Linked DNA regions of Homo sapiens: all the other regions are linked to region 1. Evidence: promoter capture Hi-C in 16 types of primary human blood cells and fetal thymus (Javierre and others, 2016). All regions are on one chromosome and are shown on one strand. The core of a region is centred on a gene start or on the middle of the fragment in contact, and the rest is flanking DNA. Distances in the headings are between cores, read along the strand shown.

Evidence for each region. Contacts are between HindIII fragments. The CHiCAGO score rates a contact against its expected background, and 5 or more counts as called.
Region 2: the fragment with the promoter of HTR3E here is called in contact with the fragment with the promoter of FAM131A in region 1 in 3 of 17 cell types (naive B cells, neutrophils and total CD4 T cells); the score reaches 6.0 in naive B cells.
Region 3: a fragment that was not itself captured here is called in contact with the fragment with the promoter of FAM131A in region 1 in 2 of 17 cell types (megakaryocytes and endothelial precursors); the score reaches 5.6 in megakaryocytes.
Region 4: a contact is called between a fragment that was not itself captured here and the fragment with the promoter of FAM131A in region 1, in 8 of 17 cell types (M0 macrophages, naive B cells, M2 macrophages and 5 more). The highest score is 7.4, in M0 macrophages.
Region 5: a fragment that was not itself captured here is called in contact with the fragment with the promoter of FAM131A in region 1 in 1 of 17 cell types (total CD8 T cells); the score reaches 5.1 in total CD8 T cells.
Region 6: the fragment with the promoter of ABCF3 here is called in contact with the fragment with the promoter of FAM131A in region 1 in 17 of 17 cell types (naive CD8 T cells, non-activated CD4 T cells, total B cells and 14 more); the score reaches 35.6 in naive CD8 T cells.

What each region holds. Positions count from the first base shown.
Region 1 is chr3:184,335,988-184,339,825 of GRCh38, forward strand. It overlaps FAM131A (family with sequence similarity 131 member A), which reads left to right and starts at 1,613. Exons shown (of 6, transcript NM_144635.5): 1 at 1,613-1,731; 2 at 2,400-2,542. The coding sequence starts at 1,644. RefSeq lists silencers at 1-246, 163-363, 287-356 and an enhancer at 2,155-2,766. The HindIII fragment of the contact is 18,780 bases long and covers 1-3,838 here.
Region 2 is chr3:184,095,417-184,099,254 of GRCh38, forward strand. It overlaps HTR3E (5-hydroxytryptamine receptor 3E), which reads left to right and starts at 1,648. Exons shown (of 9, transcript NM_001256613.2): 1 at 1,648-2,180. The coding sequence starts at 2,114. The region is part of intron 2 of HTR3E-AS1 (HTR3E antisense RNA 1); the gene reads right to left. The HindIII fragment of the contact is 4,461 bases long and covers 1,375-3,838 here.
Region 3 is chr3:184,548,034-184,551,871 of GRCh38, forward strand. It overlaps LINC01839 (long intergenic non-protein coding RNA 1839), which reads left to right. Exons shown (of 8, transcript XR_924788.3): 7 at 1,574-2,162; 8 at 2,839-3,838. All of the region lies in intron 1 of LINC01840 (long intergenic non-protein coding RNA 1840), which reads right to left. Among named protein-coding and RNA genes, the nearest start is that of LINC01840, 7.0 kb to the right of the region's middle. The HindIII fragment of the contact is 988 bases long and covers 1,704-2,691 here.
Region 4 is chr3:184,529,510-184,533,347 of GRCh38, forward strand. The region is part of intron 6 of LINC01839 (long intergenic non-protein coding RNA 1839); the gene reads left to right. Among named protein-coding and RNA genes, the nearest start is that of LINC01840, 25 kb to the right of the region's middle. The HindIII fragment of the contact is 3,749 bases long and covers 13-3,761 here.
Region 5 is chr3:184,513,128-184,516,965 of GRCh38, forward strand. The region is part of intron 6 of LINC01839 (long intergenic non-protein coding RNA 1839); the gene reads left to right. Among named protein-coding and RNA genes, the nearest start is that of LINC01839, 39 kb to the left of the region's middle. RefSeq lists enhancers at 470-970, 674-968. The HindIII fragment of the contact is 5,319 bases long and covers 1-3,838 here.
Region 6 is chr3:184,184,319-184,188,156 of GRCh38, forward strand. It overlaps ABCF3 (ATP binding cassette subfamily F member 3), which reads left to right and starts at 1,881. Exons shown (of 21, transcript NM_018358.3): 1 at 1,881-1,962; 2 at 2,189-2,336; 3 at 2,478-2,557; 4 at 3,079-3,125; 5 at 3,346-3,443; 6 at 3,543-3,665; 7 at 3,823-3,838. The coding sequence starts at 1,890. RefSeq lists enhancers at 674-1,388, 1,866-2,185. The HindIII fragment of the contact is 6,180 bases long and covers 249-3,838 here.

The sequences.
Region 1 (3,838 bases), core at 363-2,862:
CTCACGGGCTCTCCCCTCCCCAGTGTGGCCGCGACCCTACCCTCTGCAAGGCGATGGCCCGCGCCCCGAGCGCAGGCTAGCGTGCCTGGGTGCCCGGCCATGGGCTGTATCGGCTCTCGGAGCCCGGCGGGTCAGGGTAAGAGGCGGAGGCCGGGTACGGGTTGGGGAGTCGGGCTGCGGCCGCCGGTGCGCGGGCCGCGGGTGGGTGGGGGCCTTGAGGAGGGGGCCGGTGTCGGGAGAGGGAGGAGCCTGCACCGGGAGGCGGGCCAGGCAACAGGAGGGAGCGGGAATGAGCAGGGAAGGGGCCAGACCGACTCCGGTTCGCTCCCACGGCCTGCCTGCCTTGGGGTTTTGCAGGGCAGACGCATGGTCTCGCCGCTGGCTGCCGTGTGCCCACTGCTCAGGGTGGCCGGAGACGCACAGCCCCGGGAGGGGCTGGGCAGCCCGATGCCCCCACCACTCCAGCCCTCGGCGACTGGCCTTGCGCGCCCACACACACACTCCCCTCCGCCTACACCTCTGCCTTCACAGTCCTGGGAGTGGCCCTGTGCTGGGAACCTGCTTCTCCCAGCCGTGTCCCCATCTTCTTAAAGAGGTAGCCTTTCGGTCCTGGCTAAGCACCCTACCACAGAATTTTTGTCGGACATTGACTCCCCTCTTCAGTCAGTCGGCGAAGGGGGACTGAGGTCCCGTTTGGGGCACCTGTGAACACTGAATCACCTCTCACCTATTACAGTTGTTTTAATGTCCTGCCCCCACTCAGCAAAAACAAATCACTCTACTCTGTGGAGGGAAAGAGGAACCCAGAGGCAGGCCATCAGGGCTTCCTTCCCACAGTGCTGACCCCTGCCTGGGCCTCGGTTTCCGTGGGTGGCCATGCACACCGGGCCTGGCCGTAGTCCTGTGCATCAGAGGTCGGCCAGCTTCCTTTACTCCGGTGTGGTGGATTTCTCCACGCATAAGGCAAGGCAGGACTGGGTTTGGGATGGGTCCTGGACCTTCAGGGCAGGTGGTCAGTCACACAGGCCTTGGTGTGGTTGGTACTTGATGTTCTTTGGAGCTAAGACTGGCTGAGATTTGTACTTCCCTTGAGGAATTCTGGGATTTGTAGTCCTAAGTTAACCTCGTGGCTTTTGAAGCTGAGGAGCAGCTGACTGCTCTGATCTCTCTGGCCCTATCAAGGCTTGGAGTTCAGGAAGTCATCACCTTCTCTTGTCAGGGGTGAGTTTGGCTGACCTCAGGACTGGCCTCGAGAGCCCTGGTTAGGTACCAGTTGGGGGCCAGGGATGGCCTGTAACCTCCTGTTTTCCTTCTGGTTGGTAGCATTTCTGGGGACCAACAGCTGGCCGAGGCTCAGGGATAGAGACGGCTGCTCCAGCTAAAGGTCAGTTGTGATGTACATTGCCTGTTGGCACTGTCTAGGGAATGGGCCTCAGCTCCCCGAGTCCCAGAGAGCTTGGCTGAGCCCTGGTGTTCCCACCTCCTCAGAGCCATGAGGCAGGAATGTTCTCCTTATGTGACTAGGCACAGGTTCCAAATGGGGAGGGGACTGGCTCAGCATCCGGAGCCAAAACAGGAATAGAACTGGGAGCTGAGCCTGGAGCGGTTCTGGGCTTTTGGTTCTCTGCATCAACACAGCCAGCATGCCTATGATTTCTGTGCTGGGCAAAATGTTTCTGTGGCAGCGTGAAGGGCCTGGAGGACGATGGACTTGTCAGACAAGTCGCAGAGGTGAGACCAGGGATCATGGATGTGATCTGGGAGATGATGGGAAGCTGAGCAGTAGGGTGCTTAGGTGGAAAAGGAAAATTACTCTGGCTTAGATATTAAGAACCAGGCTGAAACAGGGAGAACCAGGCTGGGGCCAGACAGGGCATCAGGAAACGGCTTCAGGGGACAGGGGTGAAAATCAGAAAAAATATCATGAGTTCGTCAGAAAAGAAGAGTAAAGAGCTGTGGACCAGCTGAGGCTGGCGAGAGGAAAGAAGGCAGCAGGAAGAGAGAAGGAAGGCAACCCTCCTGCAAAGGGTCCAGGGTGGCGGTGGTGGGGGGGACAGTGATGGCGGAAGAACTCAGTGTGCTTTCCAAGAGGAATGGGTAGGCTGGGAAACGGGAAGGAGAGTCAGAATTTATCATTGTTTGGTTTCACCCTAGGGTTTTGAGGCAAAATTTATCCAGAGCAGGAAGGTGGCAAGTGGGCTGCCACAGAATGGCCCCAGGGGCCCGAGGGTCAGTGATGTGTGGGATGGGGGCTTTTAGAGTTGAGGAGAGCACTCAGTGGGCGCTGGTCTTCTGGAAGGTGGGGGAGGGGCCGAGAAATGATACGGCAATACTGGATGAAAATGGGGATCTCTGCAGAAGTAGGGGCACAGCTCAACAGCCTTTCCCCTTCCTCTCAGTGTCCTCGGACCCCGCTTGGGCTGTGGAGTGGATCGAACTTCCTCGGGGTCTCTCTCTATCCTCTTTGGGATCTGCTCGAACCCTCCGAGGCTGGAGCAGGTCCTCCCGCCCTTCCTCGGTGGACAGTCAGGACTTGCCAGAGGTGCTGGGCCCCTGGTGGTGGGGGGAAGGAGGACGTCATCCATATAAAGGGGATCTGCAGCCCCCACCCACGCCTGGCCAGCCAGCTTCTGGCTCCCTTTTCCGGCGGGCGGAGGCGCTATCCGGCGGCGGGCCGGGAGGCCGCCCCCGTGCCGGTCTGCTCTGCTCGGCGCTGTGCCAGCAGGCGGAGAGCTCGCGCCTTCCGCGCTGACGTCAGCGCATCCCGGGCCGTATCCCGGGAGACCCTGTTGCGTGGTGATGGGTTGCCAGGGAGACATACACCTTTTCTCTGGGCCTGGGCCGCAGCTGCGCGGAGCGCCGGGCACGGATGGCGGCGGCTGAGGGGAGCGAAGCGAGGGAGGGAGAGCAAGCTAAGAAACACCCAGCAGGTGCTCCCCCGCCTAGGCCTGGCTGGAGGCTACTGGCGCCACCCTGGGGGCCCTGTCAGCCAGGTACCCAAGGGGAGGGATCGAGGGTGGGCCTCAGGTCAAGGGGCAGTGTTGGCTGCCCTTGTGAGGGACGGGAACGTGATAGAAGAGAGCTGGGCAATGCCGGGGAGGGATGTGTGCCTCCAACTTCATTAAGTGAGGGAAACATTTGCTGGGGCTTGTCAGGGAGCCCTGAGCCAGGTACAGGGTGGAGTTAGGAACTTACGTGCATCAGACTTAGGCCTTGCCATCCTGAGCTCCCTCGGGAGACAGACAAGGGCAATGATGGGGGCGGGGTGTGTCAGAGAAAAGAAGAGGCTGTCGGCTGAAAGCATTATTTGCAGGTGACACTTGAGATGGGCCTTAAGTGATGGCAAGCATTTTTTCACGTAAGGATGGCATTCTTGGCCCAGAGGAAAGCTGAGTTCCTTTTCCTGGAGGCAGGCGGGCTGCTTGCTGACAGGGATTGGTGGAGAAGGGTTTTTGTTTTTTGTTATTTATTTTTATGTATTTATTTATTTGAGACGGAGTTTCGCTCTTGTTGCCCAGGCTGGAATGCAATGGTGCGATCTCGGCTCACCGCAGCCTCTGCCTCTGGGGTTCAAGCGATTATCCTGCCTCAGCCTCCAGAGTAGCTGGGATTACAGGCATGCGCTGCCACGCCCGGCTGATTTTGTATTTTTAGTAGAGGCGGGGTTTCACCATGTTGGCCAGGCTGGTCTCCAACTCCCGACCTCAGGTGATCCGCCTGCTTCGGCCTCCCAAAATGCTGGGATTACAGGCGTGAGCCACTGCGCCCGGCCTGAGAAGGGGGGTTTTATTGGGCAGAGGAGATCAGCAGTGGATTCAAAGGAGGCTTGGAAGGAGGC
Region 2 (3,838 bases), core at 398-2,897, 240 kb before region 1:
GGCTGAGGTGGCAGGATTGCTTGAGCCCTGGAGTTCAAGGCTACAGTGAGCTATGATCATACCACTGTACTCCAGCCTGGGAGACAGTGAGACCCTGTCTCTAAAAAAAACAAAACAAAACAAAAAGCAAAACTCAGTGGACAGATTAGACACAGCTGAGGGCCGGGCACGGTGGCTCACGTCTGTAATCCCAGCATGGTGGCTCACAGTTGAGGGCCAGGCATGGTGGGAGACAGTGAAACCCTCTCTCTAAAAAACAAAAAAACAAAAAAACAAAACCAAAACTCAGTGGGCAGATTAGATGGACAGATTAGACACAGTTGAGGGTCAAGCACAGTGGCTCACTCCTGTAATCCCAGCACTTTGGAAGGCCGAGGTGGGCAGATCAGCTGAGGTGAGGAGTTCAAGACCAGCCTGGACAACATGGTGAAACCCTGTCTCTAATAAAAATACAAAAATTAGCTGGGTGTGGTGGCACAAGCCTGTAGTCCCAACTACTCAGGAGGCTGAGACAGGAGAATCGCTCAAATCAAGGAGGTGGAGGCTGTAGTGAGCCAAGATCACGCCACTGCACTCTAGCCTGGGCAACAGAATGAGACTCCATCTCAAAATAAAATAAAATATGGAAGGCATCCATACTTGCATTTTGCATTCTTCGTATGTAATCATATTGTCAAAGACAAATTATGTCATAATCTATTGTAAATAACACTTTTCCCCAGACCTACCATAAAGTTTCTGCAATGTATTGTCTTCCAGTTGCAATAAAAATTACTGAGTTTCATCAAAAATTAATTAATTAATTAATTAAAATAAACACAGTTGAGGAGAGAATTTTTTTCCTGGAAGCTAGATCTGAAGAAATCATTAGGGACAGAGATAAAGAGGTAGAAAATAGGAAAGAGAGGTGTGCTAGGCAGAATAACGGCCCCCAGAATTTGTCCACATCCTAATCTCTGGAACCTTAGGTTATATGGAAAAGGGGAGTTAAGGTTGCAGATGGAATTAAGGTTGTTAATTATCGGACTTTGAGATGGGGAGACTATCCTGGATTATCCAAATGGACACAATGCAATCACAAAGGCTCTTATAAGTGGAAGAAGGAGAGAGAAACAAATAAGAACCAGAGAGATGAGATGCCTTGTGAGAAACATTGGCCTGATGTTGCTGGTTTTGAAGATGGAGAAGTAAAAATAATGAACCAAGAAATACAGGCAGTTTAAAAGCTGGAAAAGGCCGGGTACAATGGCTCATGTCTATAATCCCAGCACTTTGGGAGATCAAGGTTGGAGGATCACTTGAGGCCAGGAGTTGGAGACAAGCCTAGGCAACAAAGCGAGACCTCATTTCTACTAAAAAAAAAAAAAATAGCCAAGCTTGGTGGCTCACACCTGTGAGGTCCCAGCTACTTGGGAGGCTGAGACGGAAAGATCCCTTGAGCCCAGGAGGTCAAGGCTGCAGTGAGTCGCGATTGCGCCACTGCACTCCAGCCTGGTCAACAGAGTGAAACCCTGTCTCAAAAAAAAAAAAATCTGGAAAAGGCAAGGAAATGGATTCTCCTCTAGAGCCTCCAGAGGGAATGCGGTCCTGCTGACACATTCATTTTAGCCCAGTGAGACCCATTTCAAACTTCTGGCCCACAGAACAGTAAAATAACAAATTGTGTTTATTTAAGCCACTGGGTTTGTGATTTGTTACAACAGCAATAAAAGGCATGTAAGATAGAAGGAAACCATTCAACACATGTCTAATAAGAAAAATAGAGGAAGTGAAACATTTATAAATGTCTGAGAATTTTCCAAAATTGAAGAGATGAGTCTTCAGACCAAGGGATCTCACCAAGATCTGCAAGTTGATCACGTATGAACTATCTATAACCATTTACGTTGCAGTGAAATACCTAAGACTAAGATAAAGTCTTAAAAGCAGACTGAACCTTAAGCATAGGCAAGAACAAGACAACCAGAACACTCTTTGAAGGAAGGTTACAAATGTCAGTGGTCAACCAATGCTATTAGTATTCAAAGTCAGACTCTAGGTGTGGCCTGTGCTGCTTTAATCTGGGCATTCCTGGGTCCCAGTACATGTTCAGAGAAGAACTTAGACAAAGAAGATGGAAGGAAGCTGGTTCCACAGGAAAAGATTTTCCTTCTACCTCCTTCTCGGTTTTCTGCTTCAAGGTAAGAAAGGAGCAATGATGGGGGAAGGCGGAAGAAGGAGGACCTCTCTCTAGTAGAACATCTAGGAACTTTTTTCAAATTTCCAACTCCTAGAGATTGTCTAAGATGGATAGAGTTCTTTCATAGCTACATTACTAAGATGCCCACATAGACTTTCCTTTTCTGAAAGACGGAAAATCCCCTTCCAGTTACATGCCAAACAAGAGCACTTTCATTTTCCTTCTCGAAAAATAGAGTTCAACACCAGCAAACTTTATCCTTTCACATATGGATATCCAGTTTTCCCAATACTACTTGAAAAGTCTGTCTTTTCTCCATTGGTACCCTACATGGAAGACAACCATCCACGATCGTCTTCTCTTGTATTTAGCTTCTATATCCATCCATCTTTCTATCCACAGGTGTAATTCTTTCTCTCTACAGGTATGAAACCCAAACCATTGTAGCAAAGTGCCCACCTCCTTTAGCCATAATTTCCCTGTCCATCTGCTGGATCCAAGGGCTCTAGGTTAGGTAAGGTGCCAGAAGGCAGCAGGTCAAGGGTGAAAGTAGAATGTGCTTCTCTTCCAGGGGGTCAGCATGGTAGAGAGACAAGAACATGGGATTTGGAGACAGGTGGACCTGGGTTTGAATCTTGGTGTCTCACGTTGCTAGTTTTATAAACTTGGATGCACTGCTTAACTTATCTGAGCTCTGGTTTCCTCATCTGTAAAACAGAACCTACCTTGCAGGGTTGTGAGGATTCAGTAAGAGAAGGAGGGAAGCACAGTGTCTGGCACTTGGTAAAAGTGCCAATAACTGTCATCTCTCCTCGTTAGATTATTCCATGACTTTGGATAAGGAGGCACAGGAGAGGACTGAACCAGAGGTGACTTTAAAGGCCAGCACAGGGAAGAGACACAAATTGTACACCTGGTCTAGGCAGTGTAAATGGTTATGAAAGCTCCTCTGGGCACTTGCACACAGGGGTTGACAAATGAATATTCACTGTTCTTAGAGTGGTTTAAGAATTTGCTGGAAAGCACTGTGACGTTGGGAATGGATAAGGCTCAATGTCCTTGGCACAGAGGTTATCAACCATCTCTCTCAGTCCAAGTTGTTGCTCCTCCAACACATTTTCATGACTAGAAAATTTAAAAATTTATTAGTTAGAAGAGGGTGGGACGGGTCAGGTGAGGTGGCTCACACCTGTAATCCCAGCACTTGGGACGCTGAGGCAGGCGGATCACCTGAGGTCAAGAGTTCAAGACCAGCCTGGCTAACATGGTGAAACCCCATCTCTACTAAAAATACAAAAACTAGCCTGATGTGGTGGTAGTGCCTGTAATCCCAGTTACTTGGGAGGCTGAGGCAGAAGAATCGGTTGAACCTGGGAGCCAGAGATTGCAGTGAGTCAAGATCGCACCACTGCACTCCAGCCTGGGTGACAGAGTGAGACTCCCTCTAAAAAAAATTTAAAAATTTAAAAAAGAAATTAAAAAAAAATCCCACCCACACTTCTAAAAATAGCTATGTGGCTAGGAATGGTGGCTCACACCTATAATTCCAGAACTTTGGGAGGCCCAGGTGGGAGAATCACTTGAGCCCCGGGGTTTGAGACCAGCCTGGGCAATATAGTGAGATCCCCGTCTCTACAAAAATTTTTTAAAAAAATTAGC
Region 3 (3,838 bases), core at 948-3,447, 210 kb after region 1:
ACTGTCCTGAATTTGTGTTGATCATTTTCATCTATGTCTATATACCTTTGCCATACATGCAAGATTCCATACCCAGTACGTTGCATCTGATGGCATGTTTTTCAGCCTTGTAGAGACAGCATCATGGGAAAGAAATCCTCCTCCTGCATCTTGTTTTTGTCTCTTAAAATTGTCTGTGACGTTTATCCATGTGAATACATATATCTCTAATTTGTGTATTGTTACTGCTTTTCAAAATCCATGACTCTGCTGATGAAGTTTCAGGTTGTTTCCCGTTTTTTTTTTTTGAGACAGAGTCTTGCTCTCTCCCAGGCTGGGGTGCAGTGGTGCAATCTCGGCTCACTGCAAGCTCCGCCTCTGGGGTTCACGCCATTCTCCTGCCTCAGCCTCCCAAGTAGCTGGGACTACAGGCGCCCGCCACCGCGTCCGGCTAATTTTTTGTATTTTCAGTAGAGACGGGGTTTCACCGTGTTGGCCAGGATGGTCTCGATCTCCTGACCTCGTGATCCGCCCGCCTCGGCCTCCCAAAGTGCTGGGATTACAGGCATGAGCCACCGCGTCCGGCCTTGCTTCCCGTTTTTTACTGTTATAGATAATGCTGCTACAACGATTTTTGTTCTGATATCCTGCACATGTGTGAGACTTTCCCAAGGGTGTACACCCGGGGTGGTTACTGGGCTGAGGGTATGGTGCTTTTCCCGTCTGTCATGCAGGTTACCCTCATGCCAGCGTGTGCCAGTTTCTGTTGCTCTGTGCCCTCACTCACACTTAGTATAGCCACATTTCACATGTACAAGCCTACATTCTTTTTTTTTTTTTTTTTTGAGACAGAGTCTTGCTCTGTCTCCCAGGCTGGAGTGCAGTGGTACGGTCTCGGCTCACTGCAACCTCTGTCTCCTGGGTTCAAACAATTCTCCTGCCTCAGCCTCCAGAGTAGCTGGGATTACAGGTGCCCGCCACCATGCCCTGCTAATTTTTGTATTTTTTTTTTTTTAGTAGAGATGGGATTTCACCATGTTGGCCAGGCCGGTCTCAAACTCCTGATCTCAGGTGATCCGTCTGCCTCGGCCTCCCAAAGTGCTGGGATTACAGGCATGAGCCACTGCACCCAGCCACAAGCCTATATTCTTTATACAGTCCCTAACAACCTTTTGGGAGAATAGTTGCACAGAGAACTACAGCTAGACCATGTTCTTGGCTGTGACATCCTCGGCAAAGCCTGGATGGAGGTCACTGAGGCAAAGCTGAGCCAATATTGATTCAGAACATCCTGTTGCAAAACATGGAGTGAAAGACATGAAGCAAAAGAGGCCTTTGGAAAGGTTTCTTGGCCATCTCCACCAACAATCTGCCTCAAGGCATCATCCTTTCGTCTTGACCTTTTGTTTAAAGGACTAAGTAGGGAGCCCAAACTCCTAGATTTGCCCAAGGTGGTCCCAATTCAGGCCAGTTGTCCCAGTGTAATTATTAATAGCACCACCTTTGACTCTTCAAGGTGTTCAGGCTTGAAAGATAATTTATATGGCCACCTACTGTAGGAGGGTGGGAATTCACATCAATTTCCTATCCACAGATACTCTGCTGTGGCCAACGTGGGGAAGACTGAATGATGGAGAGCCTGTTATACAAACCACAGGGGAACACTTGCCATTGTTTCTGCTATTGTCCCACAGTTGTTTAAGATGGAAGCAGGAGCCCCTGGAAGCTTTCAGAGAAGAAGCTAGCCAGAAACTCACAAGCCCTTTCCTTGAGAAGCTCTGGCCCCATCACTGCGGAGTGCTGGCCATGCTCCCTGGTCACTGCCCATGGGACGGCCAGCTCCCGGGCAGGTGGTGCTAAGCAGGTTGGCGGGTGTTACCCCTCCCAGTCTCCTCAAGATTAGAATCTGTTCCAGGCCACCAGACAGAGCTCCCTGCCAACGCTCTCACTAGAACTGTTCCTGGATGTGCTTCGAGAGCTGTGGCCAAGCTCTTGTGACAACACCTCCTGGAATAACAAAGGGATCCTTTGTGGGCAATCGGCTCCAGCTAACAGCTTGCGGATGGCTGGACTCCCTCTGGCATTTTCTTTTCAAGACAGCCGCCCCCCCATTCCCATCCATTCAGCTCAAGACAATCTGAGATCGTACACAGATAATTGGGCCATTTGTTCAACCTGAAGAGGTAGGTCAGGTCGGCCTTCCAACATTGAAACTTCCGGAGGAAATGATGGGACACAATGGGAATCTGTGGGGGTGACAGCTCAGGGCATCCGCATTCGATGGTTCCCTTCCAGTATTGTGCCACCTCTGAGAGAAGGCCTTCAGCTCAGCAGTGTGCTCATGTGACAAGGGCTTATTCTTAGCAACAGGTCCACAAAGGATTTCCAACTAAGCAGCTTTGGAAACCTAGGCTCTTACTTGGAAGGGCAGGCCCATTGAGGATTGCTCTTGCCAATGGAGCTTCAAGACTCCTCTGGGGCCACCAACTCCATGAAGTCTTTGTGGAGCCACCGCCTCCCAGATGTTTGCCCAGATGAGAGTTGCACACTTTTGCTTTTGTGCCCCATGTGTTACCCCCATGAGTGTGTGCATATGTGTATCTGCATCCATGCACATGTACATATGTCTGTCACAGCACAATCACTCCCCCAAGGACAGTGACACTACCTTACTCTTCTGCATTCTCCTTCCTGCACTGGGAGCTCAGTAAAAGCTTGTGAAATAAAGAACGGAGTCAGTCTTTCACCTGGAGGTGGTTGGGCCCAGAAGCAGACTGGATGGAGGAATTCAGATGATATTGTCTCATCTCTTTTTGTCCCTGAATTCTTCTCTGTTTCTTTTCTTTTCTGTTACTGTAGATGAATGTTCTCCATGTTAGGGAAGATGGTCACCAGCAATCCAACTGGCAACATTGCAGCTCTGGAAATGAAGGCAGCTCCACGGTCTCTTCCCCCATCCCTTGATTACCCGTGTGGCCACAGGGTGGGGTACAGTGACTAGAGAGTCCACTAGAATGCCATGATTGGAGTGAGGGTACAGCAGTTCCCCAAAGTGGGGCAATTGAGGTGGCCCTGAAGAGGAAAAAACAACAGACATCCAGGAGAAAATCACTGGAGCTTGAGGGGCCTCTAGGAGGACACATTCTGACCTGGAGACCTGGAGGGCTCCCGTGAGAGGAACAACTGAAATCTCCAACAACCACAGGCTGAGGAGCTTGGGCTGGGCAGGTTTACAAAGACCACTGCCTCAGAAAGGACCGCGAGCGGTTGATCTGCAGGCTCTGAGCATGAGGCAGCAGCAAATGGACCCTCACTGGGGACACCCAGAGGCCAGGTCCCGTGCAGGACCAGGAGTCAGCAGCCAACCCCTGCTCATCTGCTGGGGGTCCGTGGTCCGCTAAGCGGCCCCACAGAGGGCCCTCTCCCATCAGGCTGGCTCTGGGATGACTGGGTGGTGGCCCTCACAGCAGTAGCTAACATTCTGGGAACCAGACTCCCTGGGCACTGCCCCACTGCCTCCTGCCAACAGTGCTGTTATGTGGATTTTAGGCTTTAGAATCAGAAACAGGCCCTAAATTAAGCACAGAAAGAGAGAAAGGGTGGGAGGGAAAGAGAAGAGGAGAGACTGAGGAGATAAAGGGAGGCAGAGAGAGAAAGTGTTGGAAGGACACGGGACAGTTGAAGGAAAAGACGAACAGCCGCTTTCGGGATAGACTGGGGCAGGACCAAAGCCTGCTGCTCTGCCGACCCAGGACCAACCCCCTTCAGTCCCTGTGACTGCCCCGGAAGTCCAGTTCCCAGGACTAACGCGGGCCGGTACCTGCCCCTGGGATCAGGGATCAGGTTCTGTGATTGACCA
Region 4 (3,838 bases), core at 637-3,136, 190 kb after region 1:
TAAATATTAAAAAGCTTGTCCTTGAAAGACATCATAAACAAAGTAAAAATACAAGTGCCAAACTGAGATAAAATATGCAAGAGGAAAAATATTAAATCCACATATTTTTATTTTCCCTGTAAATCACACTCTTTCAGCTTCTCCTCCCCAAGGCTGAGCCATGAAGCTCATTGCCCAGGGAAAGAAGGGCAGGTACTGCCTGGGACAGAGGCACCCTTGAGAGACTTTCTTAACTTTCCTTAACCCATTTAGCAAGACCAGAGGCTCAAATGCAAGCCTTTATGGAAAAAAGAAAAGGAATGATTTTGATTTTATCCTGAAGCTCGTCCTCTAATAGATCAAGGCTCAACCTTGGTGGACTTTTTTTTTGAGACAGAGTCTCACTCTGTCGCCCAGGCTGGAGTGCAATGGAGTGATCCCGGCTCACTGCAACTTCTTTTTTTTTTTTTAATTATACTTTAAGTTCTAGGGTACATGTGCACAACGTGCAGGTTTGTTACATATGTATACATGTGCCATGTTGGTGTGCTGCACCCATTAATTCACTGCAACTTCTGCCACCCACGTTCAAGCAATTCTCCTGCCTCAGCCTCCCGAGTAGCTGGGATTACAGGCATGCGCCACCATGCCTGGCTAATTTTTATTTTAGTAGAGATGCGGTTTCGCTATGTGGGTCAGGCTGGTCTGGAACTCCTGACTTCAGGTGATCTGCCCGCCTCAGCCTCCCAAAGTGCTGGGATTACAGGCGTGAGCCGCCGCACCTGGCCAACCTTGGTAGATTTAATCATGAAAGTCCACATGGGAGATGCGCTATCAAGAGGAAGTGGAAAAATGCCCCCCCTTCCCTGGGAGGGTTGTAGGGGGAGGAGGAAGATGGAGGGGGGAGGAGGAAGATGGAGGGGGGAGGAGGAAGATGGAAGGGGGAAGAGGAAGATGGAGCAGGGAGAAGCAGTTGTGAGAGATGTGTCCTGACAGCCCCAGTTCTAGACACAGGCAGATTGAAAGAAACACCGAAAGCAGAAGAGAAGCCTCTGACTCTGTTTCAATTTGGGCTTCTGGGAAGAGAAGCCTCACCAGGTACCTGCCCTGTATCAATCTGTCTGCCTATTAGGCAGAGACAAGACCAACAATTAGCTGCCCATTCATTGGCATGAAAAGTGTCGAGAATTTCCTGGATACTCTTGCAGGGGAAGAGCTTCTGTGAGGAGAGGTGACCCTATAGTTGACGGCTGGGTGGTCACTCAGGCTGGGAGCCTAATGGAAGTTCCCTGAGGGGGATCAAGCACAGTAGTAGGACCAAAGTGGAGAAGAATCAATTGAAAGGACCCCTGGACTCGGAGGAGCTAGAGTTTCTCAGCTATCAACGTAAGCAACAGATGTCAGCGAGATTCATGCCCTGTGATGGGGTCAACATGAAACTGGCTACAGAAATCAGAGGAGGTATAGGGCAGCACATGAATCTGTGCTCAGGAACTGAGGCCTGTTCTTCACCTTCACCACTAGACCAGCTAAGACCCACCTCCCACACCCCAAATGCCATCTCAGAGAATAAGCAGCAGGAGGAGGATGAGCTGAGATCATGGGTCGGGTAGCCGCAACAAAAAGATCTTGAAGATGGTGGCTTAAAAAATAGGAGCTGGTTTCTCTCTCAGATAAAAGTGCAGGTGGGCTGGGCGCAGTAGCTCACACTTGTAATCCCAGAACTTTGGGAGGCCGGGGCAGGCAGATCACTTGAGGTCAGGGGTTCGAGACCAGCCTGGCCAACATGGCAAAACCCCCTCTCTACTAAAAATACAAAAATTAGCCAGGCATGGTGGCGCATGCCTGTAATCCCACCAGCTACTCTGGAGGCTGAGGCACGAGAATCGCTTGAACCCAGGAGATGGAGGTTGCAGTGAGCCGAGATCGCAGCACTGCACTCCAGCCTGGATGACAGAGTGAGACTGTGTCTCAAAAACAAAAAAACAAAAAAACAAAAAACAGGCCAGGTGGTGGGCAATGCAGACTAGGCATGGCAGCTGGATGGGGTCAGGGACTGAAGCTCTATGTGCTTTTCGCAACGTGGGACTTCTAGCTCGTGCTCTAAGATACCTGCTGTAGCTCCTATCATTATGTTTGGATTCTAGCTGGTGGGAAGAGGGAAAACAATAAATCAAGACAAACTCCTCCCGATTCCCTTTAAGAGCATGACCCGGAAGTAGCACACATCACATATGCTCCCATTCCATTGTCTAGAACTAGGTAACTTTGCTACATCCAGCTGGAAAGGAGCCTGGGCAGCCACCCAAATGTCCGTCTGTCTCACTCACAGAACACACTTGCTCCTCCCCAAGGAAGACAGGTCTACAGTGATGGCATCTGTGCAAAGTGCAGACTCTCTGGATCCTCTCCCAAAGGTCCAGATGTGACTCTCTCTCTGCTGACCTATAAACCAAAAGAAAAGTTACTTCTCTTGCTTCTTATGACATATAAACCCAGTATGCGCTGGGGGAGAAGGAACAGGATAACTAATAAAAACTTTCAGAAAAGGGAAGAACGGAAAACATGCATTAGTCACTGGTTCATAGCGATAATGAGATCCTACAAAGACTCCCTTCCCTTGCATGGAGTCACCACTGGCATCGCTGTCTGGGAGCAAGTCCCTTGTCCACTGGCCCCAGAGAGGACGGGCTTGTTTTCTGGGAGGTTATTCTCTGTCAGTTGTTTTTTCTGGCCACATCTCAAGTGGGCACTGGAGACTATATCCTTTGAGGAAGGGGGAGCTCATAGGTTCCACAACCTCTTTCAGCCTGTGCTGTCTGGGGACCCTAGAGTTACTTTAGGAGTCAAAACCATCCCAGGCTTTTGTAGACCATATCTGTGGTTTCTTTTTTTCTTTTTCTTTTTCTTTTTTTTTTTTTTGAGACGGAGTTTTGCTCTTGTTGTCCAGGCTGCAGTGCAATGGTGTGGTCTCCGCTCACTGCAAACTCTTTCTCGCAGGTTCAAGCCATCCTCCTGCCTCGGCCTCCCAAATAGCTGGGATTACAGGCACCCGCCACCATGCCCTGCTAATTTTTGTATTTTTAGTAGAGACAGGGTTTCATCATGTTGGCAGGCTGGTCTCGAACTCCCGACCTCAGGGGATCCACCCACCTCAGCCTCCCAAAGTGCTGGGATTACAGGCATGAGCCACCATGCCCAGCCATATCCATGGTTTCTTTGGCAATAAAATTTCTTCCAAAAGTTAGTAGGTTCTGTGTTGCTACCACGTGCAAGTAACCACAGTTGCAGCTCTTCGTTAGGCACAGCTTTTGCACTGGAAAAGTCTGTTCTTTAATTTACTGACTTTGACTCTGCCCCTTTTATTCTGGTAGGTGGTTAAATTACCAGTGGATCTTATTGATCCCGCAGGCTTGGTCTGTTTTGGTTTTGTCCTTAGTCTTAGGAATTGGTCCTTACTCTAGACAGAACATGGTCCTTACTCCTAACTATGGATTGGCCGGAACTCCCAACACTGTGCCACCTCTGGCATTCCCATCCAGCTCTGAGCCCTATCCAGCTCTTAGCAGCCTTCTTCTAGACTTCACGGTGTCTTGCTGGCATGTGCTCAGCCAAGCCCTCAGCCAAAGGTCATTGGAGAAACCCAAAGTAGACTGGAAGCACCCTCACCCCCATGCAGATCCTCCTTTCTGTTGTATTGCCCTGCAAATTCCAGCCAATTCGGCAGCACCAAACTCCAATTTCTGCCTCTTGAGCTCAGCAAGAATGTGTTGCTCTGTGTAAGCTTCATCTCCCCATACTGTGACTCAGAAACGCCCCCAGAAAGAAAGCCAGGGCCAATATAGAATTCACCTCGTAC
Region 5 (3,838 bases), core at 392-2,891, 180 kb after region 1:
TTTATTAAAAGAGACAATGAGACGAAGCTCCTGGCAAGGAATAAGTGACTAAACCATGGCTGTTCTGTGGTCTTTGCAGTAATAACAATATCCTAAATGACCTGCGGCCAAAAGATCTCCCCACCTCATCCCACCTCAGTGCCAGGTTCATCTGTGCTAATGTATCACCGAGTCCTAAAGGATGACTGAGTCGTCCTTGGGTAACACGTGGTTAACGCGTGTGCATTTGACAGGGGTCTTCTGTAATAATGGGGTGATTCTCACGCGTGGGCGGGATTCAGGCACGGCAGCAGCATTGGGAGAAGTGCTTTGGGGCTGGGGTGAGAGGAGTTTGGGATCTCCACGGGTACTAGGTGCCCCCGCTGTCCTCTATGGTTGGGCTCTTGCGTGCGGCGGCAGATCCCGGGCGGCGCTTCGGCAGATCCTGGATGGCGCTTCGGCAGATCCTGGATGGCGCTTCGGCAGATCCCGGACGGCGCTTCGGCAGATCCTGGACGGCGCTTCGGCGGGGCTGGCCTCCCGCACACACTCGGGTCTCCAGAGTCGGGTGTGCGCGTTGGGGACGCTTCGTCCTGCAGTTGAACGCCCTGAAGCGGGAGAATCAGCGGCCTCCCCGACCCTGACTGCGCTGTAGGGTCTATGAGCTCCTCTGCAGCGCCCGACCTCCTTCGCCAGCAGCCCCAGCCCCCTGCGCAGAACCAGTCTACGCGGACGCCGGAGTCCCCCTGGGCTGCTGGAGAGCCCGAAAGCTCCCGGGGCCGTGTCTTCTGGGAAACGCGCCAATGCCCTCTAGTGGGCGAGCTTTGAACTTCCCTGAGGCCCTACACTGACCTGAGCAGGGGAATTAAATCTCCGGAGCGTCACCCGTGTCTTGCCGAGAGCGGGGCGCAGTGCAGCCCTGGAAGGGCGGAGAGAGTGAGGATGGTGCACACCCGAACCAGCTGGGTCGAGTCAGCCCCCTCCCAGGAGGGCGGCGTGGTCTCCTCCTGCCTCATCGTCCCCCTCCCCGTCCTTCACTCCTCCCAGCTAGAATTGGCACCATCCACTCTTCACTCTCCTTGAGCGAAAAGAAGGGAGACTTGAACACATCTATGCGCCAGGCAGCTTCACTTCTTCATCTGGAAGCTATTTCTAAAAAGGATTTGAAGTGATCACAAAGGCTTACAAGGGAACTAAAGAAAGATGGGGAAACAAAGACGCACGGGCTAGCACTGAAAATGTCTTAAGACCCTGAACGGTCACTAGACCCGGAGTAGAGATAGGACGTTAAACTTCCAAACCCTTAGAGCGTTAAGAAAGACGAGACCGGGAAAACTCCAACAGTCCTTCAGGAATCAGGAACAAAAGACCAAGGCAAGGGGAAGCAAAAGAGGAAGGGGCAGGGAAGCCATGGTAACTAAAAATAGAAAGGAAGGACAAAAGGAGAAACCACAGAACAGAGCAAAATTACTGCAGACGGATTAAACTCCCCTATTAAAAAAAAAAAAGTAAAAAGCCTAAAACGGCCTATCTACCTAGCTTCTAAGATACATAGCTGTAACAAAGTGACATTTAGAGTTTCAAAATAAAGAGGTCAGTGAGGATATACCAGGAAAGGGCTAACATCTGTACATCCCTCCAGTTGGGGGCCTAACTCTAAAATACAGCTCACTTCCACCCGTGTGTCTTCTTCGCCCCGGTGCCACTTCCTAAGGCACACCACAGTGACTTCCCACCTGTCCCATAGCTATAGCTTTCTAATTGGCGTCCTTAGCCCCCCTTGCCTTCCTCCCTACAAAGCACATATAATATTCTTTCAAAAACATAAATAAGAAGCTGGGCGTGGTGGCTCACGCCTGTAATCCTAGCACTTTGGGAGGCCAAGGTGGGTGGATCACCGGAGGTCAAGGGTTCGAGACTATCCTGGCGAACACGGTGAAACCCCATCTCCACCAAAAAATACAAAAAATTAGGTAAGTGTGGTGGCAGGCACCTGTAATCGCAGCTACTCGGGAGGCTGAGGCAGGAGAACCGCTTGAACCTGGGAGGTAGAGGTTGCAGTAAGCCAAGATCCTGCCACTGCACTCCAGCCTCGGCGACAGAGCCAGACTCCATCTCAAAAAAAAAAAAAAAAAAAAAAAAAAAAAGCATAAATCTGGCTAAAGTCCTTCAATGTCTTCTTATGGCATTTAGAGTCAAGTTCAACCTTTTTACTCTGGCCTACAGCCCCCACACCACCCCACTTTCTCTCACAACACCCTCTTCCCTTCTAGCTGCTGTCCCAGTGGCCTTCTTGCTGTTCTTCAAACCCACCCTGGCACACACTGTTCCCTCTGGCTGGAATGCCGTTCTTGGAGCTCTTCCTCTCCTTGCCTGGGTCCTAGCTTCAGGATCTCCCCTGGAGGAAATCCTTTCCTGGCCACTGTGTCTGGAGTGAGGCCCTTTGCCTAGCTACTCTTCATCACTGCTCTGTTTATTTCCTGCAGAGTACTTTTTACAGTCTGTGAATATCTTGTTTATTTATTTGCTTATTTATGTCTTCTCTAGTAGAATGTTTACTGCAGTCTTTTGGGTTCTTCTCCATGTATAATCATAGTATCTGCAGGTAAATATAACTTTTTCTGCTGTTAGAATTCGTTCTTATACTTTCTTTTTTCCCCAATAATGCAATTGAGCCTTTAAAACATGTTGAATAATAATGATCATGGTAAGCATCCCTTCTTTGTACTTTCCTAATTTAATGGAAATAGCTTGAGGGTTTCATGGTTTTAGTAAGAAAGATATTTGCTATTGACTTCTGGTAAATATTTTTCATCATATTTAAGAAATGTCTTTCTATTCCTACATTACTTTTACTTTTCCAATTTCTTCCTGGGTAACTGACCTATTTAAATTTTCAATCTCTTTTGATATCAGTTTATGTTTTTCTAGGAATTCAACAATTCCTAGATTTGTTGAAACAAATCTCTAGATTTTCAAGTTGGGTGCCCTAGGGTTGTATGTAATATTGTCTTATAATTATTTTTCTCTCTTTTTGTATCTGGCATTATATCACCCTCTTAATTTCTAATATTGCTTGCATTTGATTTCTTTCATTTGTTCCTAATGGTCGGCAGGGGATATCTATTTATCTTACAAAAATTAGATTTGGCATAAAACTACTGTATGATCCAGAAATTCTGCTCCTATGTATATATGCAAGAGAATTGAAAGCAGGAACTTCAACAGATATTTGTACACTCATGTTCATAGCAGCATTATTCACAGTAGTCAAAAGGTGAAAGCAATCTAAGAGTTCATCAGCAGATGAATAGATAAACAAAATGTGGTATAAACAGAGATAGAACATTATTCAGCCATAAAAAGAAATGAAATTTTGATATATGCTGTAACATGAGTATGTCTTTTTTTTTTTTTGAGACAGAGTCTTGCTCTGTCGCCAGGCTGGAGTGCAGTGGCGCAGGCTGGAGTGCAGTGGTGCGATCTCGGCTCACTGCAACCTCCACCTCCCGGGTTCAAGCGATTCTCCTGCCTCAGCCTCCTGAGTAGCTGGGACTACAGGCGCGTGCCACCACGCCCAGCTAATTTTTGAATTTTTAGTAGAGACGGGGTTTCACCATGTTGGCCAAGATGGTGTAACATGAATATATCTTAAACATTATGCTATGCGCAATTAACCAGACACAGAAGAACAACTATTGTATCACTGTAGAAAGTAAAATAGAGGTTACCACTGGTGGGCAGAGGGAGGAAGGGTGAGTTATTGTTTTAATGCATACAGAGTTTTTACTGGGAATCATAAAAAAGTTTTGGGTATAGATAATGGTGATGGTTATACAACATTGTGAATGTATTTAAT
Region 6 (3,838 bases), core at 631-3,130, 150 kb before region 1:
GGATAGATTCTTTCCCTAGCTCCTTTTTATTCCCCCTGGTCCTCGGACTCCTAGGCTCAAGAGATCTTACCTGCCCCAGCCTCTGGAGTAGCTGGGATCACAAGCACGCACCACCACAGCACCCAGCTCTTTCTCTAATTCTTAGGCAGATGTTTTCTAATTAGATTAAGCATAAATTAAGTGTGAAGTTTACATTTGGTCTTGTAGCCATCCTAAGAAATTGACCTTTTAATTCCATCATTTACCCAAGCTTCCCAAATCTTGCTGACTGGGTGGTAGGAGGAAAGATTTGCAAGGAGAATAACATAATGGACTGGGCGCGGTGGCTCACACTGTAATCCCAGCACTCTGGGAGGCCGAGACGGGTGGATCACCCGAGGTCCGGAATTCGAGACCAGCCTGACCAACATGGGGAAACCTCGTCTCTACTAAAATTACAAAATTAGCCGGGCGTGGTGGTGCATGCCGGTAATCCCAGCTATTCGGGGGCTGAGGCAGGAGAATCGCTCGAACCCAGGAGGTGGAGGCTGCGGTGAGCCAAGATCACGCCACTGTACTCCAGCCTGGGCAACAAGAGCGAAACTCCTTCTCAAATTAAAAAAAAAAAAAAAAAGAATATAATGAATCTCCATGTCTCATCACCCAGCTTCAACTATGATCAATGCGTGGCCAGTTCCTTAATATCACATCCAGTTTGTGTTCACTTAACCAGGTGTCTTATCAAATTTTTCCAGATAAGGTCCATTGTGGTTGGTTAATGCTCCTCAAATTTTAAAAATTGATGTTTCCCTTCAGGTCTTGCAATTTTGTGGAAGAAACCAGAGTTCTGTAGTTTACCACATCAGAATTTGCCTGTTGTCCCCATGAAGTCACTTAACATATTCCTCTTTACCTGTATTTCCTGTAAAATGGTTCAATATCGGGATTGATGCCTCATGATGGCAATGTTTAATCCAAAGGGATGAATGGGTAATAATGTAATTTTCGGTGCCACTTTTAGAGACCAATTGGAGGAATATTCACGTTAAATATAAAGCAGTAGCATCATTTTGGAGGAAATTCCTAACTTCCCGAGGGAATCGGTGAAAGGAAATAGCCTTTTATTGGCATTTATTGAGTGCAGAGAAGTCTGCTCAGGGTGTAGGTAGGGAATAATTTATACAGGCCACGTTGTCCTGGTTTTCTTGCCCTTTGGCGGTGGATTTGGTCGTGCCCTGGGGTGGTGGAAGAACTGAATGGGCTTAATTCACAAAGGTCGGCTGAATTACACAGTGAAAAGGCGGTCGCGGCGGGGAGGCGGGTGGCGCTGGCCACCAGGCTGAGAAGCCCGTAGGGTCTGGGGACCCGCGAAAGCAAAGCACTGAGCAGGGGGCTTCTGAGAGTCAGGGACCGGGGTGAGTCAGCAAAGCTCTGGGCAGGCTCCAAAATGGGCCTGACTGGGTACGCACCAGCAGCAGACGCGCCTCGAGGGAGCGCATAAAACCTGGCAAAGCCAAAGTGCTTTATCAGCCGCCTGCCTCTTGGGAGGCTCCCACCCGCCAGACCACGGGTGCCTCGCGGCCCCGATAAACCTTGAGCTCCCAGCCTTTGCCCCACCCCTCGCTCCCGGAACTCCACCTCCCAGAAGGCAGCGAGAACCGCACATGTGGCTAATCTTTCAGCGGAAAAGGTGTCGCGCACGCGCAGAGAGCGCGGCTCCGGCGCAGACTCGGCGCCTCTCCTCAAGGCCCCGCTCGCCCCGCCCACCGGGCTCTGCGCACTCCGCTCCTTTCCTGCGTCACCGCTACACATGCGCCTTGCAAGGAAGGGCGAGATTTCGGGGGCAGGGCGGGGGGCGGGCCTAGGCCGGGGTCTCACAGCGACTGCGCGGACGGGTTCCTGAGTGGAACATGGCGACTTGCGCCGAAATCCTGCGGAGCGAGTTCCCCGAAATTGACGGACAAGTCTTCGACTACGTGACCGGTAAGCAGAACTGAATCGGCCGGCTGGGGAGACCGAAGTGGAGGCCGGGGGAAAGTCTAAGCGAGCGTCGTGCCCGGGACTGTTGCCAGGCCTCTCCTCTGCATGACCTCTTGTCCCGGGGGCTGGTTGGGTCTGGAGCCTGGACTGGGGCCTCTGTCTGGGGTCTGAAACTGCTTGTGTGTCCACCCTACCCGATACCTTCCTCGTTCTACCACGCCCTGCCCAGGCGTCTTGCACAGCGGCAGCGCGGACTTCGAGTCTGTGGATGACCTGGTGGAAGCTGTAGGGGAACTATTGCAAGAGGTGTCCGGGGACAGCAAGGATGACGCGGGCATCAGGGCCGTGTGCCAGCGCATGTACAACACTCTGCGTCTGTATGTGCCAGGGAGTAGGGGTTGATGGGGGCGAAGGGACGGCGAACGGTCCGGAGACAAGAGGTGGGGGAGGAAGATCTGATGGCCATAGAGCTTTTCCCTCAACTCCTAACTCTGCGCTTTCTATCCCTACCCACATAGGGCTGAGCCACAAAGCCAGGGAAATAGCCAGGTGCTACTGGACGCCCCTATCCAGTTGTCAAAGATAACGGAGAACTACGGTGAGAGTGAGGGGAGGTTGAACTAACTGCCCCCCTGTGCTTTTCTCCGCCCCCAACCATCTGCTGCCTGCAGCTTAGGGCTCCTACGTCTTTTCCACAGGACAAGGTTGTAGGAGCTAGTTGATGTCTTTACCGAGGGCAGAAGAGCCCATGATGGGGGTGGGGAGGAGGTTGGAGGGTTCTCCCTCCAAGCTCTTGGGTAGGATAGGAAGCATAAGAGCCTGGAGCTGGACAGACTTGCTTTCACCCCCAGTTTTGCAACTTGCTAACCAGCTGCATGATCTTGTAAGAGTTGGTTATCTGTCCCCAGCCTTGTCTATGCCTCTGTATCCTTCTACGTGAGTTTTGTTTTGTTTTGTTTTGTTTTGTTTTTAGTGCAGGGAAGATAATAGCCATCTATCTGCAGTATTATAAGGTTTTGTAGAAAACATCTGTGTCTGTGCCTGGTTCCTATTAGTCACTCAAAATGTTAGTTTCCCTTCCCTCAGGGAGAAGGTGACTGCTTTTCTTATCGCTTACAGACTGTGGAACCAAACTTCCAGGACTGCTAAAGAGGGAACAGTCCTCGGTGAGGAGGAGGAAGCAAGGGAGGGGACTGTCTGTGATGGGGTTGGGAGTTGACTGTCTAATTGGAGTATCTTTTGGGGGGATTTCTGACTATGTCTTTTCCTGAGCCTTTGAGTCTGTTCATCATGGGTAAGTTAAGAGGGTTTACTCGAGATGTTCTCTCTTGGGGTTCCTTTCTGAGCCTACACCCGAGAGTGAAGTCGATGTGTTTGGACCCTTAGACAGTGAATGCAAAGAAGTTAGAGAAGGCCGAGGCTCGACTTAAGGCAAAGCAGGAGAAGCGCTCAGAGAAGGACACGCTCAAGACCAGCAACCCTCTGTGAGTGGGGGAAGCATGGCTCAGAAGAGAGCAGAGCAGCTTTTGCCTGGACAGAAGGTGGTGGGGAGCACTAAGAGCTGTCCATTTCTCCCTTTAAAGAGTCTTAGAAGAGGCATCAGCCAGCCAGGCAGGCAGCAGAAAGGAGAGTCGGTTGGAATCATCTGGCAAGAACAAATCCTATGATGTGCGAATTGAGAACTTTGATGTGTCTTTTGGCGATAGGTGAGGGAATAGTGGTGGCAGGGGTTGGCTTTCTTTTTCTAATTAGAGGACAATTTGGAGAGGTGAAACGGGGCTATAAACAATGTTAGGTTTGTCATTAAACTTGCTGTGCACCTATTTCTAGAGCATCTTTGGTCTCCTTTCTCCACTCCTGCAGAGTACTGCTGGCTGGA